Linked DNA regions of Homo sapiens: region 1 is linked to region 2. The links are contacts of gene promoters, found by promoter capture Hi-C in blood cells and fetal thymus (Javierre and others, 2016). All regions are on one chromosome and are shown on one strand. Each heading gives the region's core, a stretch centred on a gene start or on the middle of the fragment in contact. The rest is flanking DNA. Distances are from core to core; before and after follow the strand shown. Region 1 overlaps QTRT2 (queuine tRNA-ribosyltransferase accessory subunit 2). Region 2 holds the start of ZDHHC23 (zDHHC palmitoyltransferase 23).

Evidence for each region. Contacts are between HindIII fragments. The CHiCAGO score rates a contact against its expected background, and 5 or more counts as called.
Region 1: a fragment that was not itself captured here is called in contact with the fragment with the promoter of ZDHHC23 in region 2 in 1 of 17 cell types (naive B cells); the score reaches 5.2 in naive B cells.

What each region holds. Positions count from the first base shown.
Region 1 is chr3:114,059,507-114,064,223 of GRCh38, reverse strand. All of the region lies in intron 2 of QTRT2 (queuine tRNA-ribosyltransferase accessory subunit 2), which reads right to left. Among named protein-coding and RNA genes, the nearest start is that of QTRT2, 5.1 kb to the right of the region's middle. The HindIII fragment of the contact is 492 bases long and covers 1,032-1,523 here.
Region 2 is chr3:113,944,301-113,949,450 of GRCh38, reverse strand. ZDHHC23 (zDHHC palmitoyltransferase 23) reads right to left here and starts at 1,438. Exons shown (of 5, transcript NM_001320466.2): 1 at 1,261-1,438; 2 at 488-765. The coding sequence starts at 648. It overlaps GRAMD1C (GRAM domain containing 1C), which reads right to left. Exons shown (of 18, transcript NM_017577.5): 18 at 2,277-4,053. The coding sequence ends at 3,973. RefSeq lists silencers at 856-955, 1,306-1,805 and an enhancer at 1,520-2,020. The HindIII fragment of the contact is 7,070 bases long and covers 1-2,965 here.

The DNA of each region.
Region 1 (4,717 bases), core at 28-2,527, 110 kb before region 2:
TTTTTTTTGGACACAGAATCTCGCTCTGTCACCCAGGCTGGAGTGCAGTGAAGCGATCTCAGCTCACTGTAACCTCTGCTTCTCGGGTTCAAGAGATTCTCCTGCCTCAGCCTCCCAAGTAGTTGAGATTACAGGTGTGTGCCGCCATGCCCAGATGACTTTTGTATTTGTAGTAGAAATGGGGTTTCACCATGTTGGCCAGGCTGGTCTCGAACTCCTGACCTCAGGTGATCCGCCCACCTCAGCCTCCCAAAGTGCTGAGGTAACAAGCATGAGCCACTGTGCCCGGCCAGATCCCATTTTCTTAAGCATTATAGCATACCATACTCTGAAAGTCAACCATTGTTAAAATGTCACCAAATAAATAAGACATATCTATCATTAGTTAAATATATTCAAGAATAAAAACATTACTTTTTTTTAGGAGACATAAATTCTTAAATTTAAATAAAATAGCCATCTTTGTCATTAGAATCTTAGACATAAGAATAACTACTTTCTTAAAAAAAAAGAATAACTACTTTCTATATGGTCTAAGAAGAGATTTTATGCTAAACACAAATTATAAAAACTAATATAAGTGTTTGATGAAAGCCTGGTCAATTTTCTATAACTATGAGATCATTATTTCAAGTTATCACTAAGATAGAAACATACAAATAAGTGTCATTAGAACCCACATAAATGGAGACTGGTAAGGAAAAAAAGGTTATATTTTAATAAATAGTATAAAAGCTATTTTTTTACATACCCTATTGTTACACATTAAAACTGCTAAAACAAGAAGGTTCATTTAAGAAAACTGTAAAACTATACTTATAAGCTAATAAAAGCATACTGTAGAAAATATAAAAGAATTGTAATCTTTATTTATTTATCAGATAATACTGATTTCAAGTGATAAAAATGTATTTTATATTTTAAACCAACAGAGTTCTAATGTGAAATTTAAGACAGACTTTTGTAATCTAAGTAGCTCTGGAGAATTGAAGCAGGGGGAAGCACAAAGATGAGAAATGTACTTCAAAGCTTCATGAATCAATACCTGTTGTTCTGACTGAATATTGAAATCAACCAATATGGAACACTAGATTTCTTGAAACACAAATAAGAACTAATGAAAATTAAACGGACCAGAATTTTTAAATGCTGCAGTAACTTACGCATTTCCTACTATCACATACGTCTGAGAACGGAAGAAACTGTGTTGCCCGAAGCTATTTCAGAAAGGGCTAGAGACAAGAACTTGCTGGCTCCTCCAAAAATTCTATCTTACTCCAAAAATACTCTCTCATCTGAGCTGTGTAAAGTATGTAAAGAGTTTAAATGTACACACATGAACAGTGTTTTTTAAATTAAATTCATATAAAGGCACGAAGAACCTTCATTGGGTAAAACTAATACGTTTGAAAAATGAAGTATAGGATTCTAGAATGTTACTTTTATTATCTCTCCTCATCAAATTTATGCTCTCGTTTCTCCAGTTTATTAATAAATGACACAAATGACTGACAACCAAAGCTTCTGACAAGCATGAGATAATCTGCTTTTCCATGTTGTGTTAACTGAATTCCAGGTAAAAACAACAAACCCCATTGCTTTAGTAAAACTGTGCTTAATATCCCAGTATTGTATAATTACCATTAGACTTTAGAAATACTGAAAATAGTTTATAGAGTTCCATTACTACCAGAGACCCCTACCTGGGAATTCCTCATCACCACATCACCCCTTCTGCCATTTTATTGTAATCAGTCTGAGACTAGGCCTGCTTAGTCATAGGCTTGTCTAGAACCTGGGCCTCCTGCAAAAGGCCTGTATTCTTTTTATTCTTTTTTTTTTTTTTTTTTTTTTTGAGACAAGGTCTCACTCTATTGCCCAGGCTGGAGTGCAGTGGTGTAATCACGGCTTACTGTAGCCTTGACATCCCAGGCTCAAGTAACCTTCCCACCTCAGCCTCCTAAGTAGCTGAGACCACAGGTGCCCAACCACTGCACCTAACTAATTAAAAAACTTTTTTTGGAGAGATGGAGTCTCACTACGTTGCCCAGGCTGGTCTCAAACTCCTGCGCTCAAGTGATCCTCCTGCCTTGACCTCCCAAAGTGTTGGGATTACAGGCGTGAGCCACTGCACCCATCCAATTATGGCTTTTATGTGAGAGTAAATTTAACATGCTAGGAGATGCATTCAGATTTTTTTTTTTTTTTTTTTAGAATATCCTGCAGCATACCATGGCCACTGAAAATAACAAGATTTTTCAAAAGTATATGTGAAATCTATGAAACATCTTTTTGTTTTTTTCCCCTAGAACACACTGTGGAAAGTCATAAAAAGAAAGTGGCTTTGGTTGGGCACATTGGCTCACGCCTGTAATTCCAGCAGTTTGGGAGGCCAAGGTGGGCAGATCGCTTGAGCCCAGGAGTTCAAGAGCAGCCTGGGCAACACAATGAAACCCTGTCTCTACAAAAAATACAAAAACTAGCCAGGAATGGTGGCATGCACCTGTAGTCCTAGCTACTTGGGAATCTGAGGTAGGAAGATCCCTTAAGCCAGGGAGGCAGAGACTGCAGTGAGCCATGATCACGCCACTGGCACTCCAGCCTGGGCAACAGAGGGAGATCCTGTCTTAAAAACAAAGAAGAAGAAAAGAAAGAGAAAGAAAAGAGATAAAAGAAAGCAGCTGTCAAGTTCTTTAACCTGTGCCAACAGAATTACACAGGGGCTCAAAGATTAGCCACCTGCTGCTGCTCCCTCCAGTGCCTTACAGTCTTGTACTGCTTGGAGGGCTGGCTGGCCACTGGTAAGGGATTTAGGCTTCTGCCTGGTAAGCTGAGCCTGATCTTTTCTATATACCCAGCACAGAGCCATCACTCAGGGTCAGGCTCAAACCTATCAACCTCAGAGACTAAACAATAAAATCAGTATGCACAATTATTTACTCTGAGAATCGAAAAAAGCAAAGTGGATCAGTCAGTGGCATGTTTGCCCTATAGAATGCAATACATGAAGCCAAATATGCCATGCAAGCATAGAATCAGAATGGGAAGAAGAAGGTACATAAAGGCAACTAAAAGGAAACCCATCGGTTTTCTTAACACAGTACCCCCATTCACAGTTCTGCTTTCCAGTTTCAGTTACCCATGGACATCCGAGGTCCAAACATATTAAACGGAAAATTCCTGAAATAAACATAAGTTTGAAATTGCATGCCATTCTGAGTAGCATAATGAAATCTCTCACCATTTTGCTCTGTTCCACCCAGGACGTGAATCATCCCTTTGCCCAGCATCTTCACACTGTAGACGCCACTCGCCCCTTAGTTACTTAGGAGCTGTCACATTGATCAGATCAACCGTCACTGTATTGCAGTGCTTATGTTCAAGTTACCCTTATTTTACTTACGACTGGCCCCACAGCACAAGAGTTGTGATGCTGGCAATACGGATATGCCAAAGGGAAGCCATAAAGTGATCCCTTATGAGAAAAGGTTAAAGTTCTCCAACTAGGAAAAGAAAAAAGACTGTTTGCCGAGGTGACTAACATCTACTACTGTGCCTAATTAATAAATTAAACTTTATTATAGGTATGTATAGATAGGAAACATCATACTGTCTGTCTATTGTCTGTCTATCTATTTAGGGTTTGGATCTATCTAATCTATCTATCTAATCTATCTTATCTATCTATCTATCTATCTATCTATCTATCTATCTATCTATCTATCTACCTACCTACCTACCTACCTACCTATCTATCTGGGGTTTGGAACCATTTGCAGTTTCCAGCATCCACAAGGGGTCTTGGAACATATTCCCCACAGATAAGCGAAGATGACCAAACAACCAATCTCAGATTCTCCAAGGTTGGACACAAGGATTCTCTAAGAGTATAAAGGCAGCCAGACCTGGAAGCCCAGACCATTGGCTTCCAAGACTTACCTTTCTCTCAAAGACTTCTTAGTTTCATCCTTGTGTAAGGAAAGAATGAACATATTCTAGAAGTTCCCATCTTTTAACAAACGAGTCTCAAGTGTGATTAATCATCCACTCAGTCCTGAAGGCATCTTCTCTCTTCTTTCTCATCTCCCCTTCCCTCTCATCTCCCCTTCCCACTCTTTCCTCAACTGAAGAAACAACTTTCTTGATTCTTAACTGAAAGTCTGTAATTAGAGGTCCTTTGTAACTCTAAAGGACATTGGCCACCATGTTCTTAGAGGCAGAGATGGGCTCTCCTGTGATATAATGCTTTAATCCCAAATAACTTTAAAGATGAAATTCAAAATCCTCAGCTTAGAATACTGAACCCACTCAGCCAGCTGGAGAGAAATACCTACTTGGCTTTCTCTACAGTGAACGATTTTGGTGCTACATACTCACTTCTGTTGTTTGGGGCTTCATAAAAGTTCCACCCTAATCACAGTAACTCAACATATTAACGAAGAGAAAAATAAGGAAGCAAAAGCAGATGACTGGGTTTAAGAAAAAGTATTAAAATAAACTGCCATGGTCAGTGATTCTGTTTTGTGGGGATGAATGCAAATATTTTAAAATCTGAGGAAAACATCAGAGATGTACTATACTTCAGCTGGAAATCAATATTTTTTTTAAAAAAATGGAATTTTGTCCAGAGCTAGAAGAACCAAGTCTTCCTTTCTTCATTCATTGTTCAGGTTATGGTAAATGTTTTTTATAATTACACTTCTTTTCTAGAGGCTCA
Region 2 (5,150 bases), core at 189-2,688:
AGTTCCTCCCCAGAAACAAGGGGCAAGACCAGTACTAACAGCAGGAAAATGAAATTTCAACCCACAAGGCCCTCTGTGGTCAGGTGCCACCCAGTCCCAAGTAGTCAGTCTCTAAATGCTGAGACCTCTGAGAAGGCAGGAACTTTCTGGAACTATTGTGTTCATTTTAAACTTACAGATTCTGCTGGCTTGCATTTTATTTTATACTAACTTGCCTACTATCCCTTTAAACTGCCTGTTCTCTCCCTCATCTCTCTTTAAACGAAAAATAATATCCTATAAAACAGAGCAGACAGACAGCTGTGCACTACTGCGTAATCCATCTTTCTAAAATCCTCACACTTGACACAGAAGCCAACTCTCATTTTAGATGCTTGGAAATAGAATCAAGAGCAAATTCTAGCATTCTGGGTGGCTAGGTTGAAAGTACACATGGCAGTTCTCAGAAGGGTGATGGGGCCAGCGTCAAGAAATGCTCTGTTCTTACCGATCACACCCTTCATCCAGATCTTGACAATCACACAAACAAGTAGCCACGTGGTTCTTTTCCCCATTCCGATCTATGTACTCGCAGCAGCACAGGGGCTCCAATTCAGGTTCTTCGGTTTTCTTTTTCTTCACAGGCTTCATACTGCCCTTCTGTGTCATGATTTGCACCTGTCACCATGAGGCGTAAGAAGCCCTCAGAAGGTAAAGGTGGAAAGAACACAACTTACATCTCGTAAATAGGTCCACGCCTCTCTCTCTCTGCTTAACCTCCAACGCCTGAGCAATCAAAAATGAGAAGAGAGAGGGGGAGGGGGTCCCGTTTTCATCAGGCTTCTGTGGCTCCGCCTGGCCACACAGGGGGCTCCAGGGTTCTTGGAGGTCTGAGCTGCCTTCACCGCCCCTTCCCAGCCTGGGCAGGCGCCGTCTGGGCACCAGCCGTTCCTATGGCGACAGCCGACCACGCGTCCGGGACAGCCGGGGCGCGGGCGGTTGCGCTCACCTGCGGGTGCAGGCTGGGAGGGCCGAGCGGTCTCCGCTCCAAGCCTGGGCGCTGGTGGGAACTCAGCCTCGGGGCTATAGGGAAAGGCGAAGCATATGCCCGCTAGCAGCGGCTGACACACCAGGCTCCCTGGCAGTGCTCAGGGGTCGCGGTCCAGCCCAACTGGTCGGGCCCCTTGCAGGGTGCGCCTCTCCCGCCCCCGCCAATCCGGAGGACGTGGGCGGGCCTCGCGCACCACCCCGCCAGGAGAATGACCTTGGAAGGGAAGTTACCTGCCCTCTGGCCGGAGGTGCAACTGCAGCCAAAGAGGCGGAGGGGAGATGGGTCGGCTTCCCCGGAGGCACAGACGCGTCTCCCGATCTCTGCTACGCGGAGCCCCGGGCGTGACGGCAGGAGTCTCCGGGACCCGGGCTCCGCTCGGCCGCTCCCTCGCCGCAGCCGCCCACCTGTGACCACAGCCCGCCGCGGCCCGGGCGGCGCGCCCGCCTCCCCGCGCCGTCCCAACCGCCCCTCCGCCCGCCCGGCTCGGTGCGCCAGGTCCACGCGCGCTTCCGGGTGCCCCGCCCCCGGCGCCGGGGTTCCCCGCCTGTCCGCACGTGCGCCGCCCGCCTCCCCGCGGTGCCCGCGGGCGAGGCTCCTCCTCCTGGCCCGCGGCCCTGGCGCCGGGAAGGGGAAAATCGGCTCCCGAGAGCGCGTCCAGGAGGCAGGGGCAGGAGGTGGGTCCCGCACCTCCGGCCTGCCCCGCCACGCCACGCCCCGCCCCGCCCCAGAGGCGGCAGCCGGGCGCCGCCGGTGCCTGCGGGCGGCGCGCCGGTGGGACAGCCTCCGGAGCCCCGGGGTGCGGACGAGGTGCGGAGACGGAAATACGGGAAACCCGGGAACCCGGAGGATTTCCGAACTACGTGAGACCGTGGAGCCGCCAGCCTTCATTCAGACTCCGGCAACAGGCGGTGAGGGAGCTTTCCACCGCAAAATGTTATCCAAGTACCTCCCCCAGTTTCGCTGACCTTCTCTTAAAGGCCCATCACTGCTGCCGGATCTGTTCATTTAGCAACCTGTTCGTTTCATGATTTCTGGCTAGCAGCCTTTACATTGGACCAGCAGGCCTCGCTAGTACTTTTGTTCCAGTCGTCTGTGTATTTGAGATGAAACTGCCCTGAGATGAGAGTCCTTTTTGGGTTTTATTATTGCACAAAATTTCTTTAAAGAGTGTGGGCCCATGTACACGTTTCACTACCGCAGGCTTTCTAGTTTTGTTTTTAAGTAGAAAAAGAAGAAAAACTACAACTCAGAAATTTTCAATTTTATTAATATTCAATTTACGTAACAGGCTCAAATTTTATTAATTGAATTCTGCATCCATACGAATTTAGTCTTAATTTATAAAGCAACTTACTTCGATACTCTTCCTTGAAGTATGTTATAAAATACAACGTTTAAATAAACATCACAAAAATATTGTTTGTCGATCATTTTTGTGACTTTAACAGAGAAATCTTCAAGTTTATAATCCACTCATTCTTGCTTACAGCCAGACACTACATAAATCCTTACCAAAACAAAACAAACCCAGGTAGGTTCACTGTTACCCCTAGGTATGCTTCGTTGGAATTCACCCAGAGAAACCCATTTTCCCTCTAACGGAGTCAATACTTTCATTCTCTACAGGCATCTCAAAAATGACTATAATAATGCCATGTGGCTTTGGGGACTCTGGAGAAAAATGAAACATTTAATTAAAGGCAATAGTTGTTCAAACAGTAAGAATGTATACACAGTTTATATATAGATAGATAGATGGATATGTATTTTTTCCCCAGAGAAAGGGCTCAAGAGACAAAACAGTAAAACACTTCAACTTTCCCTAACTCTTGAAAAAATATCTGATTTTAAGTCAGTTTACAAAGTTCTTATTTTAATGAGCCACTTGTATGGAGACACATATGCATAAAAACTTTTTATGAAAGAGCCAAAGCTTGCATCTGAGTTAAAACTTGATAGTCAGTACACTTGTACTGGGACATACGTGCCCCTGAAGTTTTTATTAAAGAGCTAAAATCTATGTCTGGCTTATAACTTACCAATCAAAACAAGTCACACACATACATAAAGAAGGAAGCCATACATGGTTACTGAAAATACACAAATTATTTTCAACCAGATGTGTCACTTCCACCATGAAAGACTGCTAAGCTGAAGCCAATCTTAGTTCAAGTATGCATTTGATCTGTCACTAAATGCCCAGATTTTAACATAACCTTCTGGTTTTTAAAACTCAGAGGATGGTTCTTCCTTTTGACTGTTGGTATTCTAAGTGAGGAGGCAAGATAATCCCACCTCTGATAGTTACCTTAAGAAAAAACAACTATTTCTTTCATAAAGATACAGCATGGCAGAAGACCCTTTCTGATAATCATCATCAACATGCAGATTCAAAAAGTTTGACTATTAAATTTGCATGCTAAATAAATGAAGACATTATAATCTTTACAGTACACAAACCTGGAAATGTTATATGCCTGAAAACAGAACCTTTAAAATCAGTAATGACATAGAGGTTTCTTCTTATATTGTCCTGTTTATCCTCTTGGTCTTATCTCAGTTACAAAAGCGACCTATTGGACATGTACGGATTCTGTGCTAACAAAGCATCAGACTTCACTGTAGAAATGAGACCATACCACTCAATTCAGGGTGTGTCATTTTCTTTTTGTATCAGAGAAATTCAGTTCTATAATATATTTCATGGTTCACTGAAGAAATTCACAGCTTAAAAATATCTATAAGAAGTGAAAGGATGGATTATTAAGGCCAGCAGAAACTAATTATCAAATAAATGTTACTGAAAGAAATGTTCATATTAGAAATCTCAATAATGAAAAAACATAGAAATGTTCTATGCCAAAATCCTTCATTCGTCTGGTTTTCTTCCAGGTATTTTCTTTAAGTTCCAAGTATCTCTGCGGTTTTAGTCCTTCAGATCACTAGCTTTCAACAGCCATGCCAGTCTTATTCTTATTTAGTAGATCAAACGTTTTCTGAAGCATAATGAGTGAGCTCTTCAGCTGTAAACAAAGTTAATTTTCAAAATCAGATTAATTTTTCTAATCAGATTTGAAAATTTCTGTTTTTTATGCCCAAAATTTACAGTGACACTTAATATAGTTTTGTTTATACTGATGCCCAAATAAAACGTTAAATACAAAATACCTGATTCTTTGGGGTATCTATCAGTATGATTGCTACAGAGTTCTTCCCATTTGCTGGAGTATTGTACTTCTTCCTACTGCTACATAGTCTACCTCCCAATAGGTCCATTAATCAAATTAAGCGTAGTGACAGACTCGTTTTCCTAAAAGATTTCTGAAGTTGCAGTGGTCTCCTCACTATCCCCTAAACAACTCAAGTTTGCTTCAGTGCCTTTGCATGCTCTCATCCTCATGTTCTTCACCTAAAACTTACTCATATTCACACTCTTCATGTAGTTTTCCCCAGTCATTCTGCCTATAAACTCCCAAAGCATTATCCTTACTACTTAACACTTTGACACTGAATTTTGTAATCTTTGTCATTAACAATACACCTGGACATCTCATTTCTCTAAGAAAATTGTGTGCAACTCAAGAGCAGGAATTATGTCTTACTCTTTTTTTGTATTCATTCAACAAATATTTGTTGCTTGCCTATCACATGTTGGGCAGTGTTCTAAGCACTGGATATACAATGGAGAACCAAATAGGCACTGTCCTGTCCTTCATGGAGCTTACAGACTAGTCAGGGATCCAGAACTATTAATAAAACAAATAATCACATACATAAATATATACTTAGATATTTTATTAAGTTTTTGACTTGAGCAGCTGGTGGATGGTAGCATCATTTTCTGAAATGAGACCCACTAGAGAATTAGGTTTTGGATTAGAGGAAAATTGACTTCTGTTTTGGACATAATCAGTTTGGGAATCCTGTTAGTCATCCAGGTGAAGATGCCAAGTAGGCAAGTGACTGTATGAGTCTAGAGCTCAGGTCGAGGTGAGAGATACGGACTTGGGAGTTGCTGCTATCTGAACATTTGTGTCCCCTTCAAAATTCACGTTCAAACTGAATCCCCAATGCAACAGCATGAAGAGACGTGGCCTCTGGGAGGTGATTAGGTCATGAC